Regions from separate parts of the Homo sapiens genome. Here region 1 is linked to region 2. The links are contacts of gene promoters, found by promoter capture Hi-C in blood cells and fetal thymus (Javierre and others, 2016). All regions are on one chromosome and are shown on one strand. The core of a region is centred on a gene start or on the middle of the fragment in contact, and the rest is flanking DNA. Distances in the headings are between cores, read along the strand shown. Region 1 overlaps PTPRF (protein tyrosine phosphatase receptor type F). Region 2 holds the start of SLC6A9 (solute carrier family 6 member 9).

Region 1 (6,846 bases), core at 2,207-4,706, 490 kb after region 2:
ACACAGAGGGGCGTTGCTCAGCTTCCTGCCGGCCAAACACAATCTTCCCCCCATTTCCAGGTCTGAGGAGCTGGGGTGGGGGGATGCTCCTTTGCCTAGAAGGTCCCCATGAAAGGAGAAGGAGGGGCTCAGATCTGCATACTTGGATCCTGAGGGTCCAGCGTAGGGGAAGAGCTATGGGTGGCTCCCGCTTTTGACCCTCCTTGGGCCTATGGACACACCCGCGTCCTGGGCACACATCCATACGCATGCCCTGCGTGCCACCCCCCATTCCCATGCCGACCCCTGGCTGTAGCTCACACTGTGCCTTCAGCACAGATCTGCAACAGTGCACACAGCACACACACGCGCACATCACACAATGACCACATGAATCCAGGACAGGTCTCACCCCAGCCCCATAAGACAGGGTCACGATTCGACTGCCCCGCTCTGGTGCCTAAAGATGCTCCTAAGTACCCAGGTATTCCTTAGAAGGAGGCTCTCCAAGCAGTGGGGGCTCTCTAGGACAGAAGGTCTAAAGGGTTTCTGGCCACCCTGTCTCTCCTAGTAGCCGGTCTGTCCCCATCCCAGAGTCCTGCTGGGAAGGATGCCACCTTTCAACCTGGGAGATCTGTACCTTGAGGGGTCAGACTTACTGTCACCATGGGCGCCTGCCACCAAACCAAGCATCACCAGTGCAGGCACAAGGGGCACCATCGTCCTCCCTGGGGCTGGCTCAGGGGCCATCCAGGGCTCTAGCTCCACAGCCAGCCACAGCCCAGGACAATCAACCTGTAATGGAGAGAAGGGCAGAGCCAGTTAGCTGGTATTTACTGCTGTCCCTAATGCCCACCCCTGACGCTTTCTGACCCCCAGTCATCCTCACTGACCATCCAGAGCCTAGTTCAACAGAGCCCCCCACTTGGGCTGTGCAATGACCACCTAGACCTTCTGACCCCAGTGACCACCCAAGCTCCTCACTTATTCCCCAGCACCCACAAGGACAGCCCAACAGTCACGGTGGAGGGAGAAAGAGCGCAGGAGGCCTTCGGGCCATTCTCTAAACCTGAGTAGGAGGTACAGGGAGTGAGTGAGACCAGAGGATGTACAGTGTGTTCCAGTCCAAACCTTGAGCTTCTAACTCACCCCCATAAGAGGACAGGGAAACAGGGTCAGAGAGACGCTTACGTGGGACAGAGGACAGAGAGACAAGACAGTGACAAGGAGCAGTGAGGGGCAAAGCCAACTGACTCTGGAGTCTCCCTGGTAGAATTCTGTTGCCCCTCCTCTCCCCAGCAGGGAGGGAGAAGGTGGGAGGCCAGACTCCACGAGCACGCTGAGCACAGGCCCCTGAACACAGGCTTGTTAGCAGAAGACAGGCTCCAGGTATCAGAGGCTTCCAGCCAAAGCCACAACCCCTCAGTGCTCACCAGGACGTGCTCTTGACAAGCTGCTGCTGCCCTGCCTGGCCACCCTCGTCCTACCCATTCCCATGGCACCTTCCTACTTCACAGAGAAACCACAGGGAGGCCTCAGTGGCCAGGAATGGGGTGTTAGACCCTAGAATTCAAACCTCACATCTCTTCTGCCCTTGCCCCAGAAGCCCGGAGCCAAACAAGTGTAGGGATGATGGGGTGTGAACCTCAGGGGCTGATGTTTGAGACAGGAAGCTATGCACAAAAAGACTGAGTAGCGTCTGGGACTGGCTGAATGCCCCTAGGCCTTTACTTCCAAGGCTCCTGGCCTGAAGTGCCTGCAGGCACCTGGGTGAAGCCTCTAGCATGGCCGCACTATACATGGGAGATACGCTGCTATCACTCCCTGGCCCCACTGGTGAGCTCCCCAGGGTCTCTCTCCCATACCCCTCACCTGGGGGGCACCAGGGGATGTATGGAAGGGCCCACAAGCTCTGATCACACCATGCTCTGGGCAGAGGGGTGAGACGTGGTCGATCCCTCATGAATGCTGTGAAGACGCAACAGAGCAGAGTGCATGACGGTGAACACGCCTTGGGGCCCCACAGTGATACGCATGGACTTTGATAGGGGAGTTGTGATCAGACCCAGGTCCCCGCTGACCCACAATAGTAAGAGAATTTGCAAGGTGACAGGGCAGGTGACCAGGAATGGGCAGGGCTCAAAGGTGCTCCAGTCGTTTCTGAAATTTGAACCCTTGTCTCAACTGAGATAATCAAAGTTCATGAGGTCAGAAGGCAGCAGTTGAGCAAAGGTGTTGGACAAAGCAGGTGGGAATGCAAAGTGGGATGGGGCCAAACACAAAGGAAAAGGGGTGAGAGTTGTCCCCTGTCCCAGGATCCCACCAAAAATCTGAGACAGGAGCTGAACAACAAAGTAAGAACGGTGAAGGGTGTCCAGCCTTCATTTACACCAGTTCTTCAAGTAAGAACGTTGATAGGTGTCCAGCCCCATTTACACCAAGCTGGGGATGGATCTGCTCCACGATCCCAGAGCTGAGGTGGCTGAGACCACAATGACGCCTGCAAGGCCACAGTGGGATGGAGGTCACACATCACCAAGGCCCTGCCTGAGCTTGCGCTATGGTGCCACATGCAGCCAACGATGGAGCACCTTCCCAGCGGCCATCAGGTGGTGGACTATGAGTGGCTCTTCCTCCCTGGGCCTGTGGACACATCTGGTATCCTATGCCAGGCCAGGTCATCATGGGGGTATGGTCCCCTGATGGACCATCCTGGAGCCCCTGAATGAGACACATGAGTTTATAACTCAACAGCTGTGTTGCACCAAAGGACAGGGCACAGTGGCCTCGTACCGGCATCATCGGGTATAACAATATAATAGTCACAGAGGTTAACTTCCAGGAACAAGCATTCCAAGCATGCAACCCCTGCCAGGCAGGCTTCATAGGGACATAGGCCCCCAGCATGAGCATATCTCCCTGCTATGAAAATAAAATGCACAGCACCGTCATCATGGGATATAGCTCCCCAGTACAATGAGCAGAGGCTTAATCCCCTGTAGCCGCCTTGGTGCAGTAATCATAGCAGTATAACGCCCAGGTGCAGACATCATGGAGGTGTAATGGTGTGGTCTAGACATCACGTGGGCGGACACAGAGGGTACAGACATCATGGAGTGCAGCTGCCTGATAAGGACATTACAGGGGTGCAACTCCCCATACATTAGCAGAGGTGTAACGTGCTGTTACAGACTTCATGGTGGGGGCAGAGCTCCCAGGAGAGCCATCATGGGGGTAAAACTCCCAGAATAGACACCCATGTGGTACAAGCCTGGATGAGAGTCTGGCCATGGGTGTTGGAGAACTTGGGCCTCAGGTAACCCTACCCCCAACGTGGGGCCTCCAGAAACCCCCTGTGTATCTGGGTTGGGGTGCTCAGGACACTTTGTTCAGATCCAGAAAGTAGAACAGAGAGCTTCTTCCAGTGGTCCATGATGGACACAAGGACACAGATGCCCAGGGAGATGGGGAAACACAAGGGACACACACAAACACATTCTCAGGCAACTACTCTGGCAGCCACACAGCTGTACGAGCCAGGGCCTCTCCCTCACCAGCTCCTGGCGAGAGCAAGCTGCCTCCCGCCCTGAGACTCCGGGCACAGAGCCTGCCCTGGTGTCAGGCGGTTCAGGCCACTCCCAGCTCCAGGGCCTCCCTCATCAGAGCAGAGCAGCCCTGGATCCCCAGGCCTGGCCTCAAGAGTAGACCTTGGCCCCCAGAGTCCCAGGGTCCCAGGGTCACCTGTGGGGAGAAGGTGGGAGAGGAACAAGGGGCAGGGCTGCTGCTAGCCTGACTGCGGTTGCGAGGTTGAGCATCTTGTGAATCCATGCAACGGTGTTCACAGCAGAACACCCACTTCACCAGCATGGCTGGGTGAGCCTGGGCTTTCAACAACCGAGATAAAAACAAGGCCGGAGCACTGGGGCACTCAAGCTCGTCTCTGAATTGCACTGTGGACCATCCGTTCTGCCAAGCTGACATACTTGGGCAGGAACACAATTACATACGGTATGATATTATAGAATATAATTGGACACAATTTTTCCACATTCAGAATGGTTTTAATATATCCTTTTCCTTTGCTACGTCAGTGTAAAGCTGCCAACTGCCCTTTCTTGGGAAGAACTGTCCTTTATTCTCAAATATTGTCCTTGGTGTTAAAATGTTCTTTCCTGTATGAAATGATGGGGACAGCAGATAGCAGTTGTTTTTTTATAATGCCTTTACTTGGCAAAATAAAAAATTGCCAACCCCATGTCTGGCTCTTGAGTACTTTTGGAAATTGTATTGGTTCGTGAAACCAAAGAGCCTGGGAATCACTGCTTTGAGGGAAAAGGAAGAAGCAGGCACTAGACCAAGCCACAGCATTCGCATATGAACGTCACAGAAGATTCACGTTGCAAAACACAGAAGCCATGTCACCTCCATGCAGCCCACCCTAACCACCCTGCCAGCCTCTGTGGGGGCCCAAGGGACCATGTGATGGGGGCTTCCCTGGCTGGAGAACAGCTGGGATCATTCCTGAGTCCTCATCATAAATACGCAAACACAGATTGATTTGTTTTCCTTGGGCATGCATTATTATTCACAAATATTAATTAGTCTCCAAATACCACCTGTTTCTGTAGCCTCCCCCATCTCACCTCCCCAGGCCAGGACCCTGGGGCCCAGAAATGGACATGAGCAGAAGGAGGGGTATCCAGGGCCCTACAGAGCAGACGGCCAAGAGGAAAGGCCAGCACTTGGGCAACAGGAAGGGAAGAGCCTGTCGGCAGGGAGAGCTCTGAGCCGTTCATCTTCTAACCAGCGGGCAGCTAACCGAGCCCTTTTGTCATGTCCTGGACAGTTCACCGCGTGGCACTGCAGCAGCGGCCGCGGAGGCGGAAACAGGCCTTGTTATACTTGGGAAGGGAAAACCAACATGTTTCCAGCTCTCACCAAACCAACCACTGGATTATGACGGGAATAAATTATAGTCTCAGCCAGGACCCCTGACCCAGGGAAGGAGGGGCCTGTGGGGAAGAGGGTGAGGCCGCCTTCCCTCCTCCAGCCAGTTGGCCAGAATCCGTGAGCAGAGCCAGGAACAGCCCTCCCTCCCACGGCTGGTATCGGGGCTCCCACCAGCTGGACTGAGTCCCACCCTGTTGCAGCTCTCAGTTTCTCCATCTCACTGAGGAGTGGAGGGGGAGATTAGGAGGAGTGTCGCAGAGACTTGGAGGCGGCAAAGGGTCAGCAGGAGACTAACTCTGGAGGCAAATGACCAAAGGGGACCAGCAGAGGTATCTTCCTGCGGCTGTAACCCCTAAGCCTCCAGGCCCCTTCCTCTGGGGCTGGGGTCCCCCTTGGATTACTGTTTCCCAACTTTGTGCCTCCAAGCCTCTGTACCTGCCGTTCTGTCTATTGGAAAAAAATGTCCTTCTCCTGCCCCAGCACTCACTCACCCCTCAGAACTCTGCTCAAGTGGCCCATCACTATCCATCTTCCCCACTGACCCTCCCCAATTTTCCAGGTTTGTACAGTATAGTGAAAGCAGCAAGAGGCTGTAGACCAGAGGTTCTCAATTCAGGGTAATTTTGCCCCCATGGGACATTACGCAACGACTGGAGACATTTTTGATTGTCGAGACTGGGGAAAGCGGGGAGATGCTACTGGCATCTAGGGGGAAGAAACCAGGGATGCTGCTAGACACCCTACAATAACAAGCCCTGCCCCCACAATAAGGGTTATCTGATCCAAAATGTCAATGGTGCTGAGGCTGAGAAACCCCAACACAGACAACAAGATCCTTTGCCAATTGAGCCTAGAGCCTGACCTGGCCCCTGCCCCAGAACCCAATCCCCTGTGGGCACCCTGGGCCTTGTACCCAAGGAAGCTCCAACCTGGCTTAACTCCTGTATTTGCTGGCGCCTGGCCTCAGGATCTCAGAGTATCTTCCCCTGTACCCCCACATCAGCCCTACCCAGCCTCCAGAAGTCAGGTCCTATAGCACACCCCATCTGCACCCCACCAGACATGCCATCAGCTAGTGGCCTCCCGAGAGGACAGAGGGCTCCACCTTCAGGTACCTATTCTGGCAAGACTGGACTTCGAGTTAGGTCAGACCATCATCTGAGGATGGAGAGGCAAAGGGACACATAGTGTCCCTACACCCACCCTCCCCATCTGACCTTTCCAGCCTGTGACACAGCCCCTCTTGCTGCACCCTCTACATAACCCCAGTGCCCATCTCACCAAACGTAGGGTCTGGACCCCAGGAGACACCCAGGACATACACATTTCCTTCCCCTACCCAGGCCAGACCCATCTCTTCCACAGCCTTGTTAGTTCAGCCACCCGTCCAGATGTTCAGTGGGCAGGGTGATGAACAAGAGAGTCACAGGCTCTGCCTTCGAGGAGCTTACAGAGGGTGAACAGACCCACCGAGCTCTTGGCTCAGGATGGCCCAACCAGAACTCATCTGCCCCAATTCCACTCCTCCTCCAGGGTGTCCAGTCTTGGGGACAGCACCACCATGTTGTCAGTCACCAAGCCCGCAAACCCTCCTTAAATGCTCCCTTGTCCTCATCCCACACATCTAACCCATCAATAAGTTTGAATCTGACCTGCCTCCATCCTCACTGCCACTGTGTTAGTAAGACCTCATCACTTCCTGCCTCTTTGGTGGGCTTCCTGCCTTCAATCACTCCCAACCCATCCCGCACACAGACCAGTGCCACCTTTCAGCACATAAAAATGCAAATCTGCACTTTTGTTTGCCACTTTATTTCACAGCAGGCATTCAGACAGTGTTCCGTGAAAGAATGAACGGATGGGCAATGGACAGATCAACACATGGATATTGCTTCTCTGCTTAAGAACCTTCAATGC
Region 2 (6,097 bases), core at 2,184-4,683:
TCTGGGTTTTGGGTCCTCTACAGTGTTGGGTGCTCTGGCACCCTTGACATTGGGAATTCAGGACTTTGGGAGCTCAAAGCGATTGAGGAGTCTGGGTGTTGAAAGCTCTGGAGATTGGGGCTGCCCCTTGGACAACGCCAAAGTCAATACTTCCTGTCTATATGCCTGATTTTACCTGGAGCCACTGAGGTCCAGCCCGGAACCCCTGTTCTGAACCCCATGATTGGCTTATGCTGCCCCAAGGCTGGGGTGGCAGGGCTGGGGTGGCGGGGTTTCAGGGGTAGAGAAACCACAACAGGATGGCCTAAGGGGTACCTGGAGCCCCAGAGACAGCTCTCAGGTCTGAAACCAATCTAACCTGCTCCTCTGCATTGGGACAGGGCAGTGGAGGTGCCAGGCACTGACCACTGGGCTCCAGGTTCAAGAAAGGAAGAATCTGAGAGCAGAGCCCAGGCAGGCACCTCCCAGTAATGCTTCCTGGCTACTGAGGCTGGGGTTCTAAGGAGGTGGAGACCCCTGGCCAGGCCTGGCTTCAACTACAGGCAATGTCCACCCTCCCCCACCTTCTCAGCAGGCCCCCAGCACCACTCCATCAAGGTGCCCAGTGCTGCCAGCTCCTGCAGTGACCACCAGAAGTGGCCCAAGTCTGGCATTATTCATATTCCTACTAGACACACACCTAAGCTGACTATGTGCATCTCGAAACAGAGGCCTTGATCCTGCAGGCTGATGACACCACTCGAGGAAACCAGCCAGCCCTGGGGGCTCTGACGCTGGATGCAGCCCTCCCAGGAAATAGCTCCACTGGCTGCAGTAACTGGAGGCTCCTGAGCCACATTTCAGCCTGCAGTGGGTGGTGGGTGGGCCCCAGCCCAACTGCTGCCCTGCCCCAGGAAGAAGCAGGCCCGTCAAAATGTCTGACCCCGTCCGTCCCCCATCCCCTCCCCTGCCCCAGTCTGTCCTCAGTCCTGATCCCCCTGCCCGCCCCACAGTGGCCCAGGCTGGCCATGCCCTTCCCACCCTGCAGGCCAGCTGCTCAGAGCCAGGGGCTCACAGCCAGGGACGGAGGCTATCCCAGCTCCCACCCGGGCTGGGCCCAAACCTGCCTCCTTTGGGCCTCATTCTGATTGGAAAAAAACAGCCTCTCTAGTCCCTGTCTCAGGAAGATGACTTTTCAAACCAGAATCTTTCTCACAAGTGTCTCCTCAGGACACAGCTGTGTGGTTTCCTGAAGCTCTTTCTGGTTCAAGGTGGGTAAAACACACATATCCATGAATCTGTTTCTATGTATACAAATAGACTTTGAGCTATGCCAGTGTTAGTCTAATAAAGCCCTCTGGCCAACATCCCCAATCTCCCTAAACACTCCAAGGAAAATTTTCTCTTCACCCCACGTCCCTGTCCCTAGGTTAGTCCCCAAGCCTTCCTCTTTCTGACGGAGCCTCAGAGGGCTGGCCCCTGAGCACCCATCCTCCTCTCTTCTAACAGCCCAGGCCCCAAGCCCCTAGGCCTGAGGGCATCCTGGAAGTCTGGCTTGCAGCACCCTACACCTGCCTCCCTTCATATGGATTCCCTGAGCCATGAAAACTCTCGGAATCTTCACTGAGTGTTCTTAGCGCTCAGTGCCCTCTTCTAGGCCTGTCCCCACCCCAGCCTACTGCTGGAAGGGAGAAGGAGGGAGGCCTTTTCCCCTTCATACTCTTCCTTGTCCGCCTTCCTCTACTTGGGGGCCTCTTCGACATCCTCCATCTGCCTTCCCTGGGGTGGTATCCCTTTTGATGAGCCCCAGCGAGGAGGCAAGGAGGAAGATCCTAAAAAAAACTTATGGAGGAAGTTACGTCCTGGCAGGAGAGATATAGAGGGCTTGGACCCCATCTGCCCAGTCCCAGGAATTGAGCACACACATAACTACACAGACCTGCTGCAGTGCACACAATCAGTCTTCCACAGATGTACCTACACAAATACACAATCGGGGCTCAGGTGTCTGGGGGCACAGACACAACAGGTTGCCTAGATCCAGGTGTGTGTGCACACAACTCACGCAAGAAACACCTGCACTTGGCTTGTAGGAGACTAAAAATCCCAAACATGCTATACCTACTAGGTTTGGGGACAAAGTAAAAGTGAAAATAATCTCGCTGATAAGACTAAGGTGTCTTCCCAGATCTGATCAGGAGTCCAATGTGAATAGGAGACAACAGAGAGCTGTCTTTGTACTTTGGCTCTGAGGAAGGTTTGTGGAATGGACCGCGTGTGGCCTGAGAGAGCTCGCATTTCAGGGAATGCCTGGGCTTGATGCCTGTTATCTTGTTCAGTGCCTCTGATAAATTAATAAACTGGAATCTCACTCAACAATTGGTTTCACGTGAGTTTGGCATGTGTGCACTCGCTTCTTGGAGGCTGACTGTCCCAAGGAAAAAAATTAAACTGTTTCCTGGCCAGAAAATGGTGAGGACTCAGGGTCCAAAGTAGAAATTGCCTCTGTGGGCTGGGCCCCTTCCCTGAGCAGATGCCCTACTCAGGTTGGGGCAAAAACCAGTTCCTCTGACAGAACTAACTGGCCACTCTCCATGAAAGGTGGTGGCTCTCACAAGGTATGCAAATGTGGGAGGCTCATTCCAAATGCCAGCCACCACTCCCCAGAGGCAGCCTGGAGCAATGGGCTTTATATACACACACATGCATTTCCTTAGCCCCTTCTCTCTGTTTCACAGAGGAGGAAACCGAGGCTCACCATGCTCCTTTTGGCAAAGACTCTTTTTTAGCTGAGATTGTAACCCAGGTCTGTCTCACCATGGAAGGAGGAGGGATCCCAGGTTGGTGTCTGCAGCCCCTGTAACACCACCTCAAAAGTAGAGCTGACCAAGCCGGTGGTCCAGGAGGGAAATTTGAGAAAGGGCTACCCCGAGCCCTCCAGTTCCAAGGAGTAGGACCTAGGCCTTACCCAGCAATGCCCACAGTCTCTAGCGGCTCTGCTCCAAAGGGAATGGAATTTGCTCTGACTTCTCTCTAGGGGAAACGCAGGCGCAGAAGGCCAGGGGCCTGGAGGGCTAACTCCAGCCTCAGCCCCCCATAGTGCCCCAGGCCTTCTGGCTTCATTCCAGCCTAGCCCGAAGGGGCCCACATCTGCTTGCTCAAGGGCCCCAGCTGGAGGGCAGCGAGGCAGGGGCGGAGAAGGGGACTCCTTTGTGGCGCTCACTCCCAGGGGTTCGTGGGGATCAATCATCTGAAAGCTGGAGAGACTTGTAATTTTATTCCCTGGGAGGAGGAGCCTGAGAAGTCGGCACGGGAGGAGGGGATGGGATGGAGAGGGGAGGACGGCCAGGGGAGCCGTTCGGGTAGGGGAGGGACTTGGCTAGATCTCCCAAGCCTTCTCCACTCTTCAAACTTTCACCAAACTCTTAGCCCCCGCCTCCCCGAAACCAAAACACAACAGGCTGTGGAAGAGCTGCGAGCGGCGCGGCGGGGCGGGCGAACTCGGCGCGGCACAGAGCCTCGGGAGGCTGATGCAACTTTCCCTTTAAGAAAGCCACCTGGGCGCACCGCGGTGCGGACCCAGCACGCCTGGGCCGGGGGCTGCAGCATGGTAAGGGGGCTGGGGGAAGGGACGCTGGGGCCCGCGCCTCCGTCTGTCCTGCCGTCGGTCTGAGTGTTCGGCGGCTCCGCGGGGCTGAGCCCCAGGACCAGCGTGTGCGTGTGTGTGTGTGTGTGTGTGTGTGTGTGTGATCGCGCATGTATGCGGGCATCTGTGGGTAAGAGTGTGGGTGCACGCACCGGGATGTCTGTCTCGCCGCAAAGATCGGGGTAGGTGCGCGCGTCTGGGTGTCACCGCTGTCACCAAGGAGCTGAAGCGGGAGGGAGAGGGAAGTGGGGGGAGCTCCTGCGTGGGGTGGCGGGGGGGCGCCAGACGCCGGTTCGATCGGGGGCGGCGGGCGCAGGCTGTGCGGGTAGCGCCGGAGCCAGAGCGTGGCACTGTCCGTCCGAGGAGCCAGTGGTTCTGCGCTCTGGGGGCCTGCAGGGGTCGACAGTCGGCCGTGCCTGCACCCAGCGTGCGGGCTCCCGCTCGCTCCATCGCCTCTCAGCGCCCGCCAGCCTGGCTGCCTATCTGGCCCCTCCAGCCGGCCTGCCTCCCTATCTGCCCTCCCGGTGCCGGTTCCAGTGCCCGTGCGCCCGCGGGACCCGGGAAGCCGCGCGGGAGAGTCCTGGCGCACTCAGCCTCTCTTTGTCCGCGCTCTGGCCGCGGCTTTGGGAAGGGACTGCGAGCGAGCCGGGAGTTCTCTGGGGGTTGCTACCCTGGGAAGAATCCGTGCCCTCCCCACCCCAACCCTCATTACCGGCACACCTAGGGCGGGGCCGGGCGGCCGCAGGTGAGGGCAGGGGCCTAGCAGCCCTGGAGAGCCCACCCCCGGCCGGCGCTCCGCACCCGGCAGCCACTGCAGATCTCGAGCAGGCGGCGGGGCCGGGCCGGGCGGGAGAGTGGGGCTTGCCCGGAGGGCCGGGAGGGGCCGGTGCCGGCCCGGGGGCGGGGCCGTGGGGCGGGGACCTCGGCGCCCCGGTACTTTTCCACCGCAGGGGCCGGGGGCGGGGCCGCCGCCTCCACGCCAGCTTAGGCCCACACGTGGCGGCTGATGTAACGCCCGTGCCCCCACATCTCTCTCCCCGATTAAAGCGGACGCGCCCCACTTCGAGGAACCGGGACGCTGCGGGCGGTGCCGCTGCTCCCAGACCGACCGCGCCCCTGCCCGCCGGCCGGAGGCCTCCGCGCCTCGGGCCGGCGGATACTTAAAGGAGCCGCACCCCCTTTCGGGCCTGCTCTCCGCAAGCCACACCCCCTCGCGGATCACTCTTAAAGGAGACGGGACGCTTGCTCGCTGACAGCTTCCGCACAAAGCGCGGTCTATTTCTCCGCTGAAAGGAGCGTGAGGGTGCGGCCGTTGGGAAATAAAGGCTGCAGGGCGAGGAGTGGGGAAAGAGAAAAACCTGAAAGGTTAAAGACTGCCAAAGTGAGGGAGCATCAGAAGGTTGGAGAGTAGTGGGTGAGGGGACTGGTTCTAGGGACTAATGGGCGACACTGAGCATGCCCAAGTGTTTCCAAGGACCGCAGAGAAAACGCCCCCTTTACTTGGCCTATGCGGCGACTGCGGCTGTACCTGCTCAGTTCCCGGCTCTGGGGACACAGAAGAATCACGCCTCTGCCCTGGTAGAACTCTCCATCTAGTGGGGAGCCAGACTTGGGCACAAGGAAGCATGCCTCAATTGCTACGTGTGGCAAGCGTGGGGGTACAGTAGGAAGGCTGACAGCAACGGGGAGGACCTAGGAAGGCTTCATGAAGATAATAGCATTGGGATAGGTTTTGAGGATGGGTAGGATACATACAGGTGGAAGTGGAGACAAGGGTGCTCAAAAAACATGGAACGGGTGCCGGGGCAAAGGCATGAAGCAGGAGCCCTCTGCAAGTGCTGGGTAGTCTCACGTGGCGGCAGATGGCCGCAGGCTGCTGACCTGGGCTCCCAGGTAGAACTAAGGGCTGTTTCCTGCTCCCACAGCTCCTCCACTTCCTCCAACACAGTGAATGGAAATTATGCTTCTTCCTCTGTCTACTAAACTGTGCGGTCCTTCAAGCTAGGAAAAGAGCCTGTCACCTTTCCATCCCCCGTGAGGACTCCAGGGCTTGGCCAAGATGGACCGTTAAAACTGATTGACCTGACAGTCCTGTCTGATACTCAGCGGTGAGACTGTCAAGGTGGGCCAGGGTTCTGTGGCTGATGTCTCAACATCTGGCTCACAAGCAGCTCAGACCAGCTTGTCCAAGCCAGCCCTCCTGTCCCCGCACCAAACCTGCAGCCTCACCAGCATTCGTCCTCTGGGTCGGGCACCGGTTTCCTCCCACTGCACCAGCAGAAACCAGAGACTCCTTCTTATCCCTCCCCCTACCCAGTCCGATTCATCACCAAGTCTCGCCATGTTGCCTTTTATATTTCTCTGAAATCTGTGCACCTCTCCTCACCCTATTGTCACCTTCCTAACCTGAGCCCCTTCATTTTTGGCCTGGCTCCTTCCTTCCTTCCTTCCTTCTTTCCTTCCTTCCTTTCT

Evidence for each region. The method cuts DNA at HindIII sites, captures the fragments that hold promoters and counts their contacts. A CHiCAGO score of 5 or more calls a contact.
Region 1: a fragment that was not itself captured here is called in contact with the fragment with the promoter of SLC6A9 in region 2 in 3 of 17 cell types (naive B cells, total CD4 T cells and naive CD8 T cells); the score reaches 6.9 in naive B cells.

Annotation. Positions count from the first base shown.
Region 1 is chr1:43,538,959-43,545,804 of GRCh38, reverse strand. PTPRF (protein tyrosine phosphatase receptor type F) reads right to left here. Exons shown (of 34, transcript NM_002840.5): 3 at 639-774. The coding sequence starts at 729. Among named protein-coding and RNA genes, the nearest start is that of PTPRF, 11 kb to the right of the region's middle. The HindIII fragment of the contact is 9,596 bases long and covers 1-6,846 here.
Region 2 is chr1:44,028,798-44,034,894 of GRCh38, reverse strand. SLC6A9 (solute carrier family 6 member 9) reads left to right here and starts at 3,433. Exons shown (of 14, transcript NM_001024845.3): 1 at 3,433-3,589. LOC107984948 (a long non-coding RNA gene) reads right to left here and starts at 4,481. Exons shown (of 2, transcript XR_007066054.1): 1 at 4,346-4,481. LOC124904168 (a long non-coding RNA gene) reads left to right here. Exons shown (of 4, transcript XR_007066055.1): 3 at 575-1,250; 4 at 2,168-2,352. RefSeq lists enhancers at 1-184, 3,703-4,299, 4,941-5,498, 5,499-6,058 and silencers at 3,892-3,961, 4,282-4,831. The HindIII fragment of the contact is 12,509 bases long and covers 1-6,097 here.